2 separate regions of the Homo sapiens genome follow, and region 2 is linked to region 1. Evidence: promoter capture Hi-C in human tissues and cell types (Jung and others, 2019). All regions are on one chromosome and are shown on one strand. The core of a region is centred on a gene start or on the middle of the fragment in contact, and the rest is flanking DNA. Distances in the headings are between cores, read along the strand shown. Region 1 holds the start of UBL4B (ubiquitin like 4B). Region 2 overlaps ATXN7L2 (ataxin 7 like 2).

Region 1 (3,668 bases), core at 820-3,319:
TCTGCCTCCCGGTTTCAAGCGATTCTCCTTCCTCAGCCTCCCGAGTAGCTGGGATATTAGGTGCGCGCCACCACGCCCGGCTAATTTTTGTATTTTTAGTAGAGACGGGGTTTTACCATGTTGGTCAGGCTGATCTTGAACTCCTGACCTCACGATCTGCCCGCCTCAGCCTCCCAAAGTGCTAGGATTACAGGCATGAGCCACCGCGCCCGGCCCCATGGGTATCTTCACCAGCTGCTCTTGGCTGCCAGCTTCCAAAGACAGGGACAGAGCTTGCAGCCACCTTTGGGCGGAGTTCAGGGCTGGGTGCTGTGGAAGGGCAGTTCAGGAAAGTCCAAGGATGTTGACAACAGCATCATGCCACTGTAGCTTCCAGGCAGGTGGAAAAGGAAAGGAGGTTAGGTGGGAGGGAGGGAGAAGGTGAGTGAGAAGAAGGGCACAGTCGAGCACAGAGCTGGTGAGAGTTGAGGGGATCCCTGACAAAATCAGCCCACTGGCTGCGAGACGTTATTCAGGTCTTCTCCAAAGTTGCTCAGTTCTAAAATGAGACAATACTTTCCTCCCAGGCTAAATTGTGACAACATATATAAAGGGCTTGACCCAGAAGGCCTTCAGCAATGTGTTGCACTGAAAACTGCCAAATGCTGCAGAAGTTGCAGACACAGAGGAGGCCCAATCAGTGTCCTTTTTCATATTCACCTTTGAGCCGGGGGTGCCTGCTCAGGGCCTGGGCCACAAAAGGCACTGAGCAGAGATTTGTTTAGGAGGCAACATGAGGTAACAGTGAAGACAAGAGCAATTCTGCCTGCTTGCTGTAGGATCAGCCAAGCCTCCACTTTCTCCTCTGGCAGATGGAGATCATGGCAGTGCCTGCCTCATAGGTTGAGAGGATTCAATTAGGCAGGCCTGTGATGCAGATGCTGTGGGCTGTCCTGCCCCATCCCCTCAGCACTCACATTCCTGAGGGCCCGATGGCTTCCTACTTTTCTGTGGTCACAGGAGCATGCTGCTTAACACCTGTGGACCAGAAGTGCCAAGGAGGTAGCACTTCTATTAGCCAAAGACAGGAGTCAGAGCATAAAGATGCAGGTTCGGCCAGGTGCGGTGGCTCACGCCTGTAACCTCAGCACTTTGGGAGGCCAAAGCAGGCAGATTGCTTGTGTCTGGGAGTTTGAGATCAGCCTGGGCAGCATGGAGAAACCCATCTCTACTAAAAATACAAAAATTAGCCAGGCATGGTGGCGTGCAGCTGTAGCCCCAGTTACTTGGGAGGCTGACACAGGAGAATTACTTGAACCCAGGAAACGGAGGTTGCAGTGAGCCGAGATCATGCCACTGCACTCCAGCCTGGGCAACAGAGTGAGACCCTGTCTCAAAAAACAAAAAAAAAAACAAAAAAACCACACCTGGTGCAACTCAGGTGTGTTCCATGCAACCTCCCAGAACTCCCCAGCAGGATAACATACTAGTTGCCCACAATGGCAACCTGCTCATGAATGCACGTTTTGATTTCCCTCCCGTCCTCATCTCACATCCTCACTCCCCTCCTGGTGCCTCCTGGGATCACCTCCTAATTGAGTACTTGTTCTCAAATCCCTGTCTCAGTGTCTGCTGCTGGAAAGCCCAATCCAAAAGAGCGTGTAAAGTGCTTGACAGAAAGAGGACGCTTGATAAATGCTAGCCAGCTCACTAGTGTGAAAGTGTCATGAAGGCAGAAGTCATCCATCTGAATATGACTGTCTCCCCAGGTCCAGGTGCTGGCACAGAGGTGGCACCTAATACACATGTGTTGAAGAAATCAATAGACATGCTCCTCCCACCACCCTGTCCTTTCCCTCCCTCCCTTTCCCTAGTCTCACTCTCATTTCCCCCAGTCCCACATTTTCTTTCCTAGTGCTCTTTTTCTCCTCTCGTGGAGGAAGGATGCTCTGGGCCCAAATACCCCTTTGCTGTCCCAAAAGTTCCACTCTGGAAATGAGCCCCCCCGCAGCATTGTGACATCACCGTGCACTAGCCAATGGCTGCCTGCCTAAGCTGGGTCCCTGGTCTCCTGGGACTACTAGCCCTTTGTTGATAGGGAGAAGCCAACATCTCCCGCAGGACCCCCTAATCTTCAGGGCAGCTCCCAGAGCATGGATCCCTCCTGATTCCACTCAGCCCGATGTTCCTCACAGTCAAGCTGCTCCTGGGCCAGAGATGCAGTCTGAAGGTGTCAGGGCAAGAGAGTGTAGCCACGCTGAAGAGACTGGTGTCCAGGCGGCTGAAGGTGCCTGAGGAGCAGCAGCACCTGCTTTTCCGTGGCCAGCTCCTGGAGGATGACAAGCACCTCTCTGACTACTGCATTGGGCCCAATGCCTCTATCAATGTCATCATGCAGCCCTTGGAGAAGATGGCGCTAAAGGAGGCCCACCAGCCGCAGACCCAGCCCCTGTGGCACCAGCTGGGACTGGTCCTAGCTAAACACTTTGAACCACAGGATGCCAAGGCCGTGCTGCAGCTGCTAAGGCAGGAGCACGAGGAGCGCCTGCAGAAGATAAGCCTGGAGCACCTGGAGCAGCTGGCCCAGTACCTCCTGGCAGAGGAGCCTCACGTGGAGCCAGCTGGAGAGAGGGAGCTTGAGGCGAAGGCACGGCCTCAGAGCTCCTGTGACATGGAGGAGAAGGAGGAGGCAGCAGCTGATCAGTAAACGGGCCATCCTACCCATTTGCATGCTAAAATTCTCCCGGCCTCATCCTTACGTGTTCCCTGGTGACTTTTCCTACTACTTCCTGCTGATGTGGATGCGTCCACACCCCTTTTTGAACCTTCCAAGCAGCTGGAGGGTTTTTGGATCCCTGTCCCCTCTTGGGCCTGAGGTCCTCCCTCTGAAATGCAGAGTGAACCAACCCTCATCACCATGCTTCCCCTAGAAGGGTTCTGATCACCGGAGGGCAGCCCCAAAGGCCACAGTCCCCTCCTGTGCTGGCAGCTTTGCCCACACATACCCAGCAGCTCCCCAGGCTGAAAGCAGCCCTGGCCCAGGGTCTCCATGGTTCTAGGCAGACCCTCTTTCTCCTTCGGGACAGAAAGACAATGTGAGTTCATTTTCCTCCATCCTCAGACCGTGACATCTCCCCTAGGCTCCCCAGCAGCCAAGAGGAGAGGAATGTCAGGTAGCTGCCCCTTGCCTTCTGGGTGAGGCTGCCCCTGCTGTTCTCCTGCTTGTGCTTCCAGCTTAAGGGACAGGCACAGCAGAGGTGAGAGTGGGAGGAGGGCACGTACCGGGTGCCAGCCCTGGAGCCCTCAGGGAGACAGACACAGACCAAGAATAGCAGGAAACTGAGCCTCAGGCAGAAAAAAAGTTCAGCAAAGTCATACACTCCCTGTGGCCAGCGTGAACAGAGCCATGCCCCACCCTCCCAGACTGATCAGTCAGTAGGTATCACAGCTCACATTACCTGCCCAGCGCTGCCCAAGGCTCCCTGGAAGGAAAAATGGTATCTGTCAATGAGGATCCTTGCCCTCACAGAGCACGCAGCCTAGATGCAGAGAGCTGCTATACATGTGAAAAGTAAAGTGGTGACATGAAACTAGAGTCTAGTGTGTGTGACTGAATGCACGGGGCCTCACGGGGCCCTGGGTTCAGCATAGAGGGGCCAGTCCCCTGCAGACTACGAGGAAAGCCAGGC
Region 2 (3,668 bases), core at 707-3,206, 620 kb before region 1:
TCAAGGCTGAGGGAGCCCATGCCCAGGAGGTGAAGTTCTTTCTCACTCTTTTCTCACCTAGATCCAGGGCGCCAGCCAGACACATCTCACAGCTGGCTTCTCTGGCCTCCCAGATGCCCATGGCTGCTTTTGTTTCTTGATGTGTGTTGCCCTGCTTTGGGCTTGAAGTCCCAAAAGGCGCACCTGAAATTGGGATAGGGATGGTTCTCACACCCAGCAAGGAGATGTTGATGCCCAGAAGTTTATCTGGAAGGTACAGCCCCAGGCTGAGGGCTGGAGTCTCTTCTGCCTTAGTACCAGTTCTCAGGCCCTTGGCAGGAAGCGGCCAAATCCTCCTGTAAACTCCTGGAAATGGTCTTGAGGTTCATTGGAAGTGCTTTCCCCACAGGGAAGGAGTGCGACCTCAACAGGCAGTGTGGGGTAATAAATCCAGAGACCAAAAAGATCTGTACCCGCCTGTTGACCTGCAAGGTAACCCCCTTCCCACTGCACGGTGAGGGAGGACAGCACAGGGCTTGCCCACTCCTTCCCTGGGCAAAGAGAGGAATGTCGATGTTACTGAAGGTCCAGCTTAAGGGAGGGCAGTTAGGCCCACCCAAGGGAAGGGGAGATGGGTATGCCCCTCCTGGGCAGAAGGTGGGAACAGTGGGAAGGAGGGAGTTTCCAGATTCCCCCATCCCAAAGGAGGGTTTTGGCCCCATGGGGGAATGAAACAAAGACACATGAACACAGCTGCAAATATGCCCACCTCTCTCCCTGCCCCCCAACTTGCCCGGGCCAAAGCACCCTGCCGTCCCTCACCCCTTCTCAGTTCATACCTACTCCCCAGCTCTCCACTCTGCTGTATTCTAGATCCACTCAGTACACCAGCGCCGGGAAGTCCAGGGCCGGGCCAAGGACTTTGACGTGCTGGTGGCAGAGCTGAAGGCCAACTCCCGCAAAGGGGAGTCTCCCAAGGAGAAGAGCCCAGGGCGCAAGGAGCAAGTTCTCGAGCGCCCCTCCCAGGAGCTCCCCTCCTCAGTCCAGGTTGTAGCAGCGGTGGCTGCTCCCAGCAGCACCTTCTCTGTTCGTGCCAAGCAGACCTACCCATACTGTGCACTGCCCAGGTACGTCTAGAATCCAACCCCTACCTCACCTGGGGGTACTTGGCCCCTAAGCCATCAGGGGCCCCTGGAAACAGGCTCAGGGAGTGTCCTGGAAGAGGCACTCCCTCAGCCCTGAGTGTGGGGGTATTCCTGGGGCTCCTGACAGTGGTGTGGAAGCAGGAGACTCCCCTGTTTCCAACCAGGCATACCACAGCACCCCAGCCTCTCGGCAGTGTGCCAGATCCAACACTCAGGATATGAACATTTTCCCAGCTGCCTCCAACAGACCGAAACTTGTCACTGGGGAGCTGAAAGGGTCACACTCCTGGGCAAGGCAGCCCTATGTGTATTCACTCACTGGCCCCTTCGCGTGCAGAGGCTATGCCGGACCCCAGGGAGAGCCTGACTTGCTGAAGGAGACACACATGCATCTCTGCCTGTCACACAAGGGGCAGACACGAAACACAGGCTCAGCTCACAGACAGGCTCACAGGAATATGTGATGCAAGAAGGGGGTTGAGCGAGTTGACTGGGCTGACCAGAGCTGGGTACAGTTTTAACTGTGAAGATTTTCTGGAGGAGGCGGATCTGCAGCAGATTATCCCCTGAGGAGGAAGGGGCTGGGAGGTGAAGGGGCTGGGGAGAGAATCCCTTGGGAGCAGTCTCTCTGTCTCTTACTCTGTGAGCTGTGTCGTTCCCTCCTGTCCTTCCCTTCCCTCTGTCCTCTTCTGATTGCCCTGCAGGGTGTCTGCCCTGGTGCCCTGCTCTTTGAGCTCGGCAGGTTCAAGGATGCCCCTACTCTGACCCCACAACAGTCACATTCCCCTGGCATCCCTTTTGGCCCTTCCAGGTCCCGGGCCTCCTCCGAGAGTGAATTGGATGATGAAGGCCCCTGTGGTGGTGATGGGGACCCAGGCCTGTTCCCCTTCCCCATGCCCCGGGGTGGGACCCAGGCCTCCAGCGAAGAGAGTGAGGAGGAGGGGACATCTGACGACCTCCACCCACCCCCTGACTGCCATTATGCAACCCGGCCCCCACGGCCACAGGCGGTAAGGACCTGGAATAGGGGCCTATGGAGGGGGTGGCCCAGCACTCCTGGCCAACAACATGGGGAGGAGGCCAGATCCTGTGTGCAGATGCTGTCTGTGCACCCCAGACCCTGCCAACCATGCACCTTCCTTCTGCCTTTAGTTCTGCACCTTTGGGAGCCGGCTGGTGAGCCCAGGATGCTATGTGTTTAGCCGCCGGCTGGACCGGTTCTGCTCAGCACTCAGCTCCATGCTGGAACGGCACCTCAGCACACACATGTGGAAGTAAGTCTCTCGGACCCAGAATGGAAGTTCTAGAATGGAAATTCCTAGGTTCCAGACATACTTGGGCTTCAGAAGCCCTGATCTTTCCTGTATACCCATAGGTGTGCCTTGGCTATTTGCCAGCAGGACCCCAGATAGGGAGTAGCATGAAAAGGAGGTGGGAAAACTTGGCAGCCTAGAGTTTGGCTAAGGCAGGGCATGGAAGGGTGGTCTGGGGGTGAATCTAGACTTTCATCCATCACTTCCAGTACCTTTTGGGTAACTAGGGATAGGGGATGCCCAAACCAAGATTTAAAATGAAGTTCCTAGTGGGCTGCCTCCTAGTTAGTAGGTACTAGCTAATTCCTCTCCACAGGCACCCCTGTGTCTTCTTCCTAACCCTCAGTTCCAGCATCTCCCAGCAGATGGCAGCAACTCTGGGGCTCTGCTGACCATTTCTAGGTGGGGCAGAGAGACTGGAGTGTGTCTTGTGTTGGGGGAAGCTGTCTTGTTTCTTGGCAGTCACAGTGGGGCTTTCTTTTTGCTGCAGGAAGATCCCACCGGCAGCTGAACCTCCAGCTCACCTTGTCAACTCCCCGTTATCTGCTCCCCTGAGCCCATCCTCTACAGGCACCTGCCCCCGCCTTCCAGGTCCAACCCTGAGACCTGCCTGCCCAGCCTCCATGCCCCCCACCAAGGACAACCTTGTCCCCAGCTACCCTGCAGGCTCCCCCAGCGTGGCGGCTGCCTGTAGCCAGGCAGAGTGCATGGGCGGGAGCCAGGCTATCACCTCACCACTGCCTGCCAACACGCCATCCCCGTCCTTCAGCAAGCTGCCGCCTTCCAAGGCCAGCAAGTCATCCAAAGGCAAGGACGGGGTGGAGGTGGAGGCCCCTTCTCGAAAGCGGAAGTTATCCCCTGGCCCTACCACTCTTAAACGGACCTGCATCCTGGAGCCCACTGGAAAAGGGAAACCCTCTGGCTGTAGGGGCCTCTCGGCCAAAACTAAAACAGCCCTGAGCATGGGGCTTAATGGGACAATGGGGCCAAGAGTGAAGCGGGCAGGGCCCCTGGACTGTCGTGGCTCCCCTCATCAGCTCCCCACACCAGTCAAGGCTTCTCAGCTGGAGAACCGGGGAGCAGCTGGACACCCAGCCAAGGCCCTGCCAACCAACTGCCTCTCTGAGGAGGAGGTGGCCAAGAAGCGGAAAAACCTGGCCACTTATTGCCGGCCAGTGAAGGCCAAGCACTGTCAGGCTGGTGCCCCTGCTGATGTGGCCTGCTCTGTGCG

What was found. The method cuts DNA at HindIII sites, captures the fragments that hold promoters and counts their contacts. A contact is called where the count stands out against the background at its distance.
Region 2: a fragment that was not itself captured here is called in contact with the fragment with the promoter of UBL4B in region 1 in 1 of the 25 tissues and cell types used here (pancreas).

Annotation. Positions count from the first base shown.
Region 1 is chr1:110,110,374-110,114,041 of GRCh38, forward strand. It overlaps UBL4B (ubiquitin like 4B), which reads left to right and starts at 2,070. Exons shown (of 1, transcript NM_203412.2): 1 at 2,070-3,574. The coding sequence starts at 2,162. The coding sequence ends at 2,686. The HindIII fragment of the contact is 14,264 bases long and covers 1-3,668 here.
Region 2 is chr1:109,487,995-109,491,662 of GRCh38, forward strand. ATXN7L2 (ataxin 7 like 2) reads left to right here. Exons shown (of 11, transcript NM_001350175.2): 6 at 389-471; 7 at 853-1,106; 8 at 1,936-2,134; 9 at 2,277-2,398; 10 at 2,928-3,668. Among named protein-coding and RNA genes, the nearest start is that of CYB561D1, 4.3 kb to the right of the region's middle. RefSeq lists a silencer at 2,863-2,912. The HindIII fragment of the contact is 6,277 bases long and covers 1-3,668 here.